2 separate regions of the Homo sapiens genome follow, and region 1 is linked to region 2. Evidence: promoter capture Hi-C in 16 types of primary human blood cells and fetal thymus (Javierre and others, 2016). All regions are on one chromosome and are shown on one strand. Each heading gives the region's core, a stretch centred on a gene start or on the middle of the fragment in contact. The rest is flanking DNA. Distances are from core to core; before and after follow the strand shown.

Region 1 (6,163 bases), core at 3,542-6,041, 3.2 Mb before region 2:
AAGTTCTAGTATAAATAAGTCATAGTGATTTCTAAGTGAGAAACTGAAGGGCTCTCCTAGGAATAAAACACTCAGAAACTTTGATTTTTTTTCTAGATTCTAGGATATACTATAGATTGTACTAATATGGTAGCCACTAGCCACATGTAGCTATTTCAATTTAATTATAATCACATAAAACTACTGATTTCAGTTTCTCAGTTATTTTCAAGTGCTCAAGGGCCATGCATGGCTAATGACCAGTTAATGGAAAGCAGAAATATAAATTTCCAATGTCACAGAAAATTCTATTAACAGTGATGTTTTAGACAACTGAAGCTGCTGGACAAATAAAATGTCATTAATAGTATCTATTTTCCAAAGCAGCAAATGGGCTGAAGAAAAGAGTAAGATCAATCACTAACTGCTACCTTTTCTCTAGCTATTTTAAAAAGATAAAAATTCTTACTAGTAGCTTCCATTAAAATGTAACCATCATATAGATTCATCAAAGCAAATAAATGGAGGCCAAGACATGCATATTTAAAGAAAATGGATTGGAAACAAATCAACACCGTCCTTGGTTCTTCAAGCCTATTCCAAAAACAAAAACAAAACAAAAAAAAATAAACTATCTGCAAAATAATGAAACCTACTGGGATAGACATTGAATCTACACTTCTTTTCTAGAGGAGCAGGCAAAGCCCCTGGCCAAGGCAAGATCAATTCAATACTAATAGTACTATCAAGCAGGTAGGACACTTGTATTTATTTATTATCTAAGCTCCCAAAAAGGAACTTAAGTAGTTTCAGAAACATTCTACACATAATAGAAAAGACTAAAAACTAAGCAGTTAAAGTCATCTGACTAAAGAGAAAATATGGGTAGGAAAATAAGATAAAGTCATGGTCAGTTACAAGATGTAATTATGAGATAAAAATGTACCAGCTGCTCAGGAAAAACTATGGTGACATCTAAGATAAGTATCTCATATGAGTCCTCATATAGGATACATTATGATATCAAGGACAATTCCTTCAATTAGCCACCCTAGGATATATAAAGTTGAGATCCATTTAGGTGTTTCTTACAGTAATGTAATCTCATAACGTAATGTTGCAAAAGCAATATGATTCAAATACTCAGCTTTCTAATAATCTGGCTTGATCTAAAAATAATATATTTAAAGTATATAGTAAACAAATAAACAATATCTGGTAAAGCCAAGGCCAGGAAACACTGTGTTGCCCCTAAGAGAGACAGAGATACTAATGCTCCCTAAAATTTCCCATTATTTATAGGGCAAATACATAAAGGCCATTTTTGTTTTGCAGCCCCTTCCAACATTCATTTCCCTTCAAGTCTGCCCAAAGGTTTCCAAGTAGTTCTCTTTCTGCCTCCCAGGTCCCTCGGAAAGTCCTCTAGAATACAGCCATGAACATTTAAAGACACTGCAGTGAACACACTTTACTTTCCCTACCCCACACGAAGTCAAAATTCACGCAATCCCAGAAAAGCCTGGAATAAAACCTAATTGCTAATTAATTAAAAAATAAAGTTTCTTATATGAACACTAAAGTACAGGAATTTTACCCTCAGAGAGCCACTATGTCTTTCTCATCCCCAGTAAGAACTTTCTTTATTCCCCACTTTTTCTCCTATGAATTGACATGCCAACATCAGTACACAACTGTTAAAGCTTTAGATTGCTACTTACTTTTGAATCTAATTTTTGTTTTACGTATGCACCATTTGCTGCTGTTAGGACATCGTTTATCAGAATAAAAGCATATCCTTCCAGATCAAATGCCAAGTCAGAGCTGCAAAACATAAGCAACACTTTAAGAACAACTTAAAGAACATGCATTTAATTTTAAATAGATATAAGCTAAAATATTTACAAGAACATATTCTCATCTAGGGAAGTGAATATTAGGCATTTTATCAGCTACTAGTATTTCTTGATTTCTGGTCATAGTTTGCAATTTCACCTCAATAAGGGATTCCTCAGAAATAAGAGGCACTAACATTTAAACACATAATTAGCAACGGTCATTCATGTCATTTAATAGCACACCGCTCTGCATTCAAAGCCAGATGACAACAAGCACCAAATTACCATTAAGTACATCTGTGAAGCAGGCAGAAGCAGGCAGAGCTCAATTTCATAGACAAGAAAACCAAAAGGATGAGGCCATTAACAAGTCATTTTCTGAAGGTCCACATGAAAGGTAGGACTATCTTGCATAGGTAGTTGGGCCCCTGGGTGAAATTTCTGAAGTGTGGATCATGGTTAGTTCTGAGATCAAGCTAGAACAATGTCTAAGCACATAGCAGGAACTCAAATACTTAAACAATAGCTCAATGAACCTGTGAAGTATAACTTGGGGGTTTAGGGAAACTGAAAATTTCTGGAACTTAGAGTACCAGGCACGAGATAAGAATTTAGTAAATTAAACAGAATAAATGAAAATCTGAGAAAGGTATGCCTTCAGCATACTTCAGCACCCTAGCTAAAATAGTGGCTGCACAGACTCTGATTTTGCAGAGATACTGTATAGGAGCCAAGACTTATCTAATGAGTTCTATGCCACTGCAATTTTAGGCAGGACTAACTTAATGCACACTCCCTACCCCAAGCAGTCTAACAACCTTCTGACTGACTTCAGAGGTCTGAGTTCCCTTCCTTTCAATCTTTTTCCAAGTCAAAGGGTCTAACCAGATAAGGCTGGTCCAGACAGTAATCCTTTTCAGAAGTTTTTGTAGACACAAGAAAGCCCTGAGGAACCCCTGTTGTTTGGTACAATTTTGGGTCCCATCAGCTTCAAGGAAATGTTTCAAAGACTAGCAGGGCACCTCTAAAAAGAAAGGTAGGAGGCTAGCATAGAATTTTTCTCCAAGGGGGGAATATGACATAGAAGGAAAAGCAGTTAGCTATATAGCCAATTTCTAGTAACCAATTACGCCACTCTCTTTTTTTTAGAATGAAATTTTACTTGGAGATTGGACTTGTAAAACAGGACTGGACTGATAATATTTTCTTCCACCTATACTACAGGAATGTGATGAAGGTAAATGAGTCAATTCAAGAAGTACACTGGAACTCCTGGATGGAAAACATATGTCTGGCAGAATGTGTGGCATTAGTAAATACATATATGCATGCCCTGGGCTGATTAAAATGTTGTAGAAGACTTCTAGCATCATTATAATTTTCTAGGTCTGTGGGTATACATTTTCCTCATGTATTTTAAAACTAAAACTTAAGAAAAATGGGAAAAGCTTTAATAACCTAATAGAATATCTAAGTTATGGCATTTGTGACATATCTTATGTGAGGCCAATTAAAGCAATGTTATTGTTCATTATTCGAAAAGGCAAGCAAATGTTTCATAGTCATTTTCCTCACCTCACAGAAGAGGAGACATGCTTTTCTTTAGCAGCATGCAAAATTAAGGAACGCCAGGCCAGGCGCGGTGGCTCACGCCTGTAATCCCAGCACTTTGGGAGGCCAAGGCAGGCGGATCACGAGGTCAGGAGATCGAGACCATCCTGGCTAACATGGTGAAACTCCGTGTCTACTAAGAATACAAAAAATTAGCTGGGTGTGGTGGCAGACACCTGTAGTCCCAGCTACTCGGGAGGCTGAGGCAGGAGAATGGCGTAAACCTGGGAGGCGGAGCTTGCAGTGAGCCGAGAGCCCACTACTGGACTCCAGCCTGGGCGACAGAGCAAGACTCCGTCTCAAAAAAAAAAAAAAGAAATGCCACATGGTTTATAAAAACACACAGGCTCTGAAGAAAGCCACAGATTCAAATTTCAGCTCTGCCATTAGCTCTGTGACCTTAAGTAAGTTATTGAACTTAAGTTTTAGTTTCTTCAACTATAAAATAGGAAAATTATACCCATACCTCTCAGAGGTGTTGTGAAGAATACATAATAAGATGTGTAAAATGCCAAACATATTGTGTGGCACATGCTATGTGCTCAGCACAACGACAGTAACAAATTCTAAATTACATCAATTTAAATTTTAACAATCCCAAGAATCTTATTTTTGTCAACCTTTATCTTAATACAGCCAAAAAGATTTAACCTTTTCAAGAGTCTTCTAGATGCTTTTCAAAGATATAATTCTTATTTAGGCAATAAAAAATTGTTATTGATAAGCAATCATTTATTATCAATAATTATTGACAATTTATAATGTGCTAGTCATAGGCCCACATCTTACCTGGCAGCTACAAAGGCTCCAATAATCATTGCAAATACAGTCATTTTAATACCCCAAGAAAAAGTCTTCCTACAAAACAAAAAATTTTAAAATACACACATGACTTTATTCCCACACTCATTTTACAACAGAAGCAAAAAATGGGATATGCTTTCTCAAAAGCTATAAACAATCGTATTTTAAACATTTCTGAGAAACTGATATTTAAAAGAACCCCTTTGATAAAGCAAAAATTTATTGTTATATAAGTTATTACACCCACTTTTAAAATTTTCACCTATTGTCATTATTAGTGAGTTTGAATTTTTGTGAAGCAGAATTTCTTTAACAGAAAAATGTCACATTCATTTGGAGCTAGACATGAACACTATTTAAAACCTATACCTATGATTCTGATCCAGCTTCTCCCGGTGGCAGTAGTACAGAAATTCTAGAAAGTAAATCTCACGTTCAGATAAGATTTTCAACTCTAATTCATAACCTTCCCAACTACCACTCCCACAAACTATCAATTCCAGCAGCCAAGAGAGAGGGTTGCTTAAACTTCTCAAAAGGTAAGGTAGGAACAAGACAAATAATTTAATATCTCACATATGCTGGGCACCTTTTCAAGGTGATTTAAAGAACAGATATATTAGAAACTTAGCTCACTTGAGTAAAACTCCTTCAGCAAACATTGTAAACAGGATGGAGAACCTTCTCAGAACTGTAAACATTGGCAAGCTGGAAAAAAAAAAGATAATTAGGTAAAATAGAATTTAACAATTTGTTTTAAACTAAGATTTTCCAAATTGGTAGTTAAAATAATGCTATTCTTCCATTATGGAAATTCCATACAAATTAATTTATGGTTAAACCCCTGCTTCTCTCTAGAAGCAATTCCTACTTGAAAGCCTACAACAGTTGCTTTTAAAAAACTACTAGAAGTGAGAAACATTAAATTAACTACAAAACTTTATTCTAATTATGCAAAACCCTAAGCTGTAAATATGTCAGTTTTTAATAGAAAAAGGCTTCCTTCTCATTTTTTCACTAGTCTGACCTCCCTTCCCACCCCCTAGACCACCCAAAAACCATCTATGAAAATCTTACCCCATGAAATGCCTTGACTGTCCTTTTGTGGATGTAATTTTGTCTTCATCTAAATTCCCAGAGCATTTTGCTTGTACTAATCAAACATACAGCCTCTTGCAATATAGTTATTTCTGAATATATCTTATCTCACTCCAAAGTGCCTTATACTTAGCTGGCAATCAAAGATAGGTGTGAATGAATGGTTGGATGAGATGGATGAAAAAAAGCAAACTCTACACAAGCAGCACTTTGCAGAAGGCCTGCATTTCTTTCCTGGTGGGTAATGAAATGGAAAAAAATGTCCCACCCATGATAAATCTGACTTCCTTGGAACCCTCTTCAGAGATATCATCTCGGTCATTCTGTCAGGTTTCTCGGGTTTTAAAGGAAGAAATGAAAAACACCTTGTCCTTGATGCTCAAAAATCTCTCCATTCTATTTTACAATGCCAGGGTTTTAGCTTGTGTGGTAGTGGTGAAGCCATGGGGTTTCTGTTAAATGTTTTCTCTATTTGTGTCATTTTAATACCACACACAACCGATATGTACACTACAATAAGAGCAGAAGCCAGAAACCGGGAGGTTAGAGGGAAAGACAGTGTTACCATGGAGAGGAGAGCTATTGCTTCTTTCTGAAAATAAGTATGTTGCCTCTACAGTTACATGCCATGTGTAAGATATTAATAATATTTTTATCAGGGTTCTAGCTGATGTTACCTTACTTCACATTAAAAGAAAAACTGCAAAAGTTCTTGTGCCTACCCTCTAATTTTGCTGTGTGGAAGTTGCCTAAAATATTTATGAACTATACTAAAGAACTGAAATCCCAGAAGCCTAGTATATATCTTCACTATTGTGGCTCTAGAAAAATAATAA
Region 2 (5,648 bases), core at 2,090-4,589:
AAATGTTTACAGCTGCTTTATTCATAACTGCCAAAAACTGGAAGTATCCAAGATGTCCTTCAACATGTGAATGAACAAAATGGTACATTCATACAATTGAATATTACTCAGCAATAAAAAAAAAAGATTAAGTCATCAAAAATACATGGATGAACCTTAAATGCATACTGATTAGTTAAAAAATCAGTTTGAAAACGTTATGCACTGGTATGATTCAAATTAAGAGACATTCTGGGAAAGGTAAAACTATAGAAACAGGAAAAAGATCACTGGTTGCCCACAGTTCAGGGGAAGATAGGTAAGGAATGAATGGGTAGAGCACACAGGATTTTTAGGGAAGTGAAATTATGCTGTATGATACTCTAATGGTGGATATACGACATGCATTTGTCAATTTCATAGACCTGTACAACAGTAAGAATGAGCCCTAACAAACCTATGAACTCCAGTTAATAATAATGTATCAATATTGGTTCATCAATTATAATAAATGTACTACATTAATGCAAGATGTTAATAACAGAGGAAACTCTAAGCTGGAGACAGAGGGTATATGAGAATATAATGTACCATCTGCTCAACTTTCATTAAAAAAGTTCGTTAAAAAATTTTAAAGTATGGTTGTTTGGGGGAAAGGTAATTTTTGTTAGTGTCATTATTATTATTTTAGAGACAGGATCTCACTCTCTTGCCCAAGCTGGAGTGCAATGGCACAATCACAGCACCCACTGCAGCCTCCAACTCAGGCTCAAGCAATCCTCCCACCTCAGCCTTCCAAGTAGCTAGGACTAAAGGCGCACGCCACCATGCTCATCTAATTCTTGTATTTTTTGTAGAGATGGGGTCTCACTATGTTGCCTCAGGCTGGTCTTGAATTTCTGGCCTCAAAGCGATCCTCCTGCCTCTCAATTTGCCAGAGTGCTGGGATTACAGGCATGAGCTACTATCATTATCAAAGTATAGGATACTGAAAAGAGGCCTCAAAGTAAATAGTTAAGGGAAAGGTTTAGAAAGACTTTTGTATGCTGTGCTAAAAAGTTTACCTATACCGTATCTTCTGGGCTATGGGAAGTCATTAAACGTTTTGAGTGATGTAAGATCTGTTTTGGAAAAATAACTCTTGGTAATGACACTAGGATTTAGAGTGTGAGGGTAGTTGTTGTTGTTGTTTATGGACAGGGTCTCACAATATTGTCCAAGCTAGAGTGCAGTGGCTATTCACAGGTGTGATCATAAGGCACTACAGCCTTAAACTCCTGGACTCAAGTGATCCTCCTGCCTCAGCCTCTGGAGTAGCAAGAGTGAGATGTAAAGTAAAAACTCCAGGAAACCAACTAGAAGGTGCTGCCATGATAACAGCAATGGTGAATTTTTACTGTGTACTTTTTATGTACCAGGCACTTTATTTCATTTTATCTCATTTAGACCTTAATAGGTCCTGTTATGACTCCTGCATAATAAATGAGAAATTAGGGCACAGAGTGATTAACCATCTCAATGTTATGTGAGCAAAGATAGGAAGATAAGAAGCACGACCCCGTAACGAACTACAAACAGTTCAGAATTATAGTGGTTTGCCTATCAAAGTTTCACTAACAAGTGATGAAACTGAGGGCTACATACAGCCAGACAGAGAAAGACTTTCTATATTATAGTAACAGGGATTCCTTTTTTATATATAAGCTACAAATACCATGAGTTTCTGCCATTTATATCTTTCCCTCCTATGAAATGCTGTTTATTCACTCATTTAAAATCATTTTATGTACCAGGTAAAGTGTTAGGTTCTGGTTATATAACAATAACCTAAGCAGTTCTAATCCATATCATCACGGACCTAAGAGTCAGAATCCATGTGCTCTCTTAAAGTTTAACAGACGAAACCACCTGAGTCTAGTCAATAAGTACATTCTAGCACACCACTTATGATTTGAGAATACTCATTCACTTACTTATTGCTTCCGCAAAATTTAATAAGACTCTACTATGTACCAAGCACTATTTTCAGTGATAGAAATACAACAAAGCACAAAACAAAGCTCACTGACTTCATGATATTAACCTTTTGGTTGGAGGGCAGAGAAAACAAAAAACATAAATGATATAAATTCTGATAGTGATAAATGCTGTTAAAAAATTAAACAGGTAAGAGAACAGAATGTTAGCATGATAGGTATGCAAGTTTAGAGAAAAATGTTTCAGGTTTTGGGGAAACCAAGTAGATATATATATATGCACAACTGTAGTTTGAAAATGAGTATGTTCCCATTGATCAAAAACTCTTTTAGGTGGAGTAAGGATTCTGTGTCTTTTCATTCATTCAGAAGCATTTGCTTGCCTAATCTACTTTATACATGTCACAATAAGAAAGCAATCATTAGAAGGAAAATGGAAGGTTTTAATCAGTCTTAAAACCTAAATATAAATGAAGAAAAACATTACAGGAAAAATGCTCTATTTCTCCATCTCTCCATTCCCCTCCCTCTCTCTCTTACACACACACACACACACACACACACACGACAATCAGAAGAGCATCTGGCCATTCATTCATGGTACCCAGATTTGTGCTTCTTGGTCTTTAACAGGTTTCTCAGGATGTCCCCACATTCAAACACTCTGTGTGGCATCTATCCTGATCTTCAACTTAGAAAATATACTCATTATTCCTTGTAAGTAGAACTCTGCACAGCTGCATACAGAAGAGCGTCTCGGCAGGGAACAGTGCAGGTTCACAAAGGGGCCGATAAAACATATAATTTTAGCTTTGGTAATTGCCCTTGAAGATTACAATAAGAGGAGGAAAATAAGGGCCAAAGAAACAAAAGATTTGCCCGTGATTTGATAGCTGGTTTCGTCACATATTATGTTGCTTATCCCACAGAATGTGGGAATCCCAGAAAGCGCCCCGTTTAAATTTAGACCGTATTTTTAGCAGGGTCCCTTTAACAGAGATTGCGGGAACCTGGGAAGGAACTGAACTGGGCTAACCAAACCGGTCGAAATGAGCACAGGGATTAGATTAGAGCACAGAAATTCTGGCTAGCAGTCTGAGAAAGGGGGCCAAAGCCAGCCCAGAGAAAAGGGAGGTTGCCTGGGCCAAAGGCTTTCTGACAGGAGACACAATAGGGTCGTACCTCTGGGTCTTACCTTCACTGAGGTTTCTACCCGACAGGTTTAACTGGCCGCTCTTCCTCGCTGCCTTCAACAGCCCTTGGGGTACCGAGGTACCGCAGTCTCTTCCACCTGCTTTGAAACCAGCGCGGAGATCCTGCCCCGCTATCCGCTTCAGGCGCGACATGTTCAAAGTCCTAGGTCCAGAAGCTGCAGCCCCACCCGTGACGCTTAAAGGTGGCGCCGTTGGGATGCCCCGCTCCTTTCGTGAGCGCGCGCTCTGGGCGCTGGGCTCGCGGCCTCGCGCTGGGCCTTCACTCTCTGCGGCGCAGTCCAGATGTCGTCAGCACCAGCGCCTGGGCTGGAGGACAGAGAAGCCTTTTCCGTTGCCGGTGCCGGCCTAGCGTCCTGGAATTACTTCAATCAAGTAAGTGCGTTTAACGGGCTTAAGAGGGGCTTTCGGGTTTATTGTTTGCACTGTTACTGCGACTCCAACCTTCTCCTCTGTGCTTCCACCGTGGCGAGGGTGTGGGGAAAGAGAACCCTCTCTTCTCCCCTCTCCTAGTCTGAACGTGGGCCTTGACTAAAACTTGAGATCTGGGCGCGGTCGGCAGCGTTTCTGGACCCCAGCCTGTGTTTGTCGCTTGTGGTGGTGGCGCCAGACCTCTGGCGTACGGAGTAAAAGAAATTTTCTGTTCTTAAGGCTTGTACTCTGACACCATTCTCGTTGTATTGAGGGTATATAGCTTACCCAGCAAAGGAGGTAATGTGAAATGGAAGGACTGGCAACATAGAAGACAAAAACAAAAATCCTTAAAATTTAATAAATGTTCTGTGTATCAGACAGTTTAGGGAGACAAGTAGTGGTACATGCTTTAGTGAAGCTCAGACAGCTTGGATTTTTGAGCCCTAAAAAGCAAGTTCAAATCTCAGCTGCTTCTTTACTTTAGAAACTGTTAACTTTAGGCAGTTTACTCAACCGCTTTTAAAGCTCATTCCTTTTTTTCATTACTTTGGGGATAATTCCTACCGCATAAGGTTTTTGAAATAAGTGAAGATAAAAACTAGAATCTTGAGCTCTCGGTGAGTCCAGAATAATAGCAAATGAAAATTTTGTTCAATGTAAGTCGGTGTTTCCTAGGAAATTAAAATTTTCATCTGAAATGTACAACTTCTTGATTCAACAAGTAATTATTAAGATTAATCCTGCCTAGTATGTGTACTATCCTGGGTGCTAGACTTTTCTTTTGCCTGAAATGATTTTGTTTTAAAAGCATATGCCAGGGAATACCATTCTAACCCCCATCAAGTCTACTGAGGATTGGTAGAATAGTTGAAAGCTAGGATGAAGGCCCTTTGATCAATTCTTCATCACGCACTTTTACCTGAGTCCAGGTTATTGCTACCTGTAAAATTCGGTTTTTAACTCTACCCTTTTTGTTCTTATTTCTGTGGAGTCCTTTACACTAATATCGAACAAGAGAAAGTTACCAATAGTTGTTACCCTACTAAAAAAGCAAAGAGTGGATTTTTGTCTTTTTTTTTTTTTTTTTTTTGAGACAAAGTCTGGTCTGTCGCCTAGGCTGGAATGCAGTGGCGTGATCCCGGCTCACTGCAACCTCCGCCTCCCAGGTTCAAGTGATTCTCCTGCCTCAGCCTCTCCAGTAGCTGGGATTATAGCCGCGCACCACCACACCTGGCTAATTTTTATATTTTTTAGTAGAGACGGAGTTTCGCCATGTTGGTCAGGCTGGTCTCGAACTCCCAGCCTCAAGCGATCCGCCCAGTTCGGCCTCCCAAAGTGCTGGGATTACAGGTGTCAGTCGCCGTGCCCAGCCTGAGTTTTAAAGGAAAACGACCGTAGCAGCTTTTGCAACGTTATTAATGAGGTCCCTGGTCAGCTTGTCTTCACAGTAATGGTAATAGCTGCCTTATTGGGCCCATACCAGGCTCAGTGCTAATAATACCTCTGTTTGCTATTTCTTATTTAACACAGTGACTAATTTTGCAGATAAGGAAATTGAGGCTAAAAGGGGTGAAGAAACTTACCCAACCTCACAAGTTTCTCTGAATAGCACGACCAGGAATTTGAACCTAGATCTGTCTCCAAAACCTTTCTTTTTAATCACCATGACTTCCCTAGTGGCTTTTCATAATTCCCAACTTGCTTTTTTTTTTAATCCTGTAATCATTGTAAGAGACACTTCAGTTGTTTTTAAGAAGATTTCTTTATTAAAGAACCACCTTTTTCTCTTTATAGTAACAACCTACCTTTGGGGAAGAAACAACCCACCTTTGGAGAATTGAATTGCTCGAGTACAAAATTTTACAGTAACCACCCCTCCCCCTACAATAGATTCTTCTTTCGTTCTTTTTTTTTTTTTTTTTAAGAGACCAGGTCTCACTCTGTCACCCATGATGAAGTACAGTGGTGCGATCACAGCTCACTGCAACCTCGAAATCCTGGGCTCAAACAGTCCTCCCACCTCAGCTTCCTGAGTAGCCATCACACCACCATGCCCAGCTAATTGTTT

What was found. The method cuts DNA at HindIII sites, captures the fragments that hold promoters and counts their contacts. A CHiCAGO score of 5 or more calls a contact.
Region 1: a fragment that was not itself captured here is called in contact with the fragment with the promoter of LRRC40 in region 2 in 1 of 17 cell types (total CD4 T cells); the score reaches 6.8 in total CD4 T cells.

What each region holds. Positions count from the first base shown.
Region 1 is chr1:67,045,568-67,051,730 of GRCh38, forward strand. It overlaps SLC35D1 (solute carrier family 35 member D1), which reads right to left. Exons shown (of 12, transcript NM_015139.3): 5 at 4,866-4,937; 6 at 4,215-4,283; 7 at 1,698-1,800. Among named protein-coding and RNA genes, the nearest start is that of SLC35D1, 5.5 kb to the right of the region's middle. The HindIII fragment of the contact is 3,063 bases long and covers 3,261-6,163 here.
Region 2 is chr1:70,202,240-70,207,887 of GRCh38, forward strand. LRRC40 (leucine rich repeat containing 40) reads right to left here and starts at 3,340. Exons shown (of 15, transcript NM_017768.5): 1 at 3,151-3,340. The coding sequence starts at 3,301. It also overlaps a transcript of SRSF11 not described here. RefSeq lists enhancers at 2,934-2,993, 3,254-3,563. The HindIII fragment of the contact is 8,465 bases long and covers 1-5,648 here.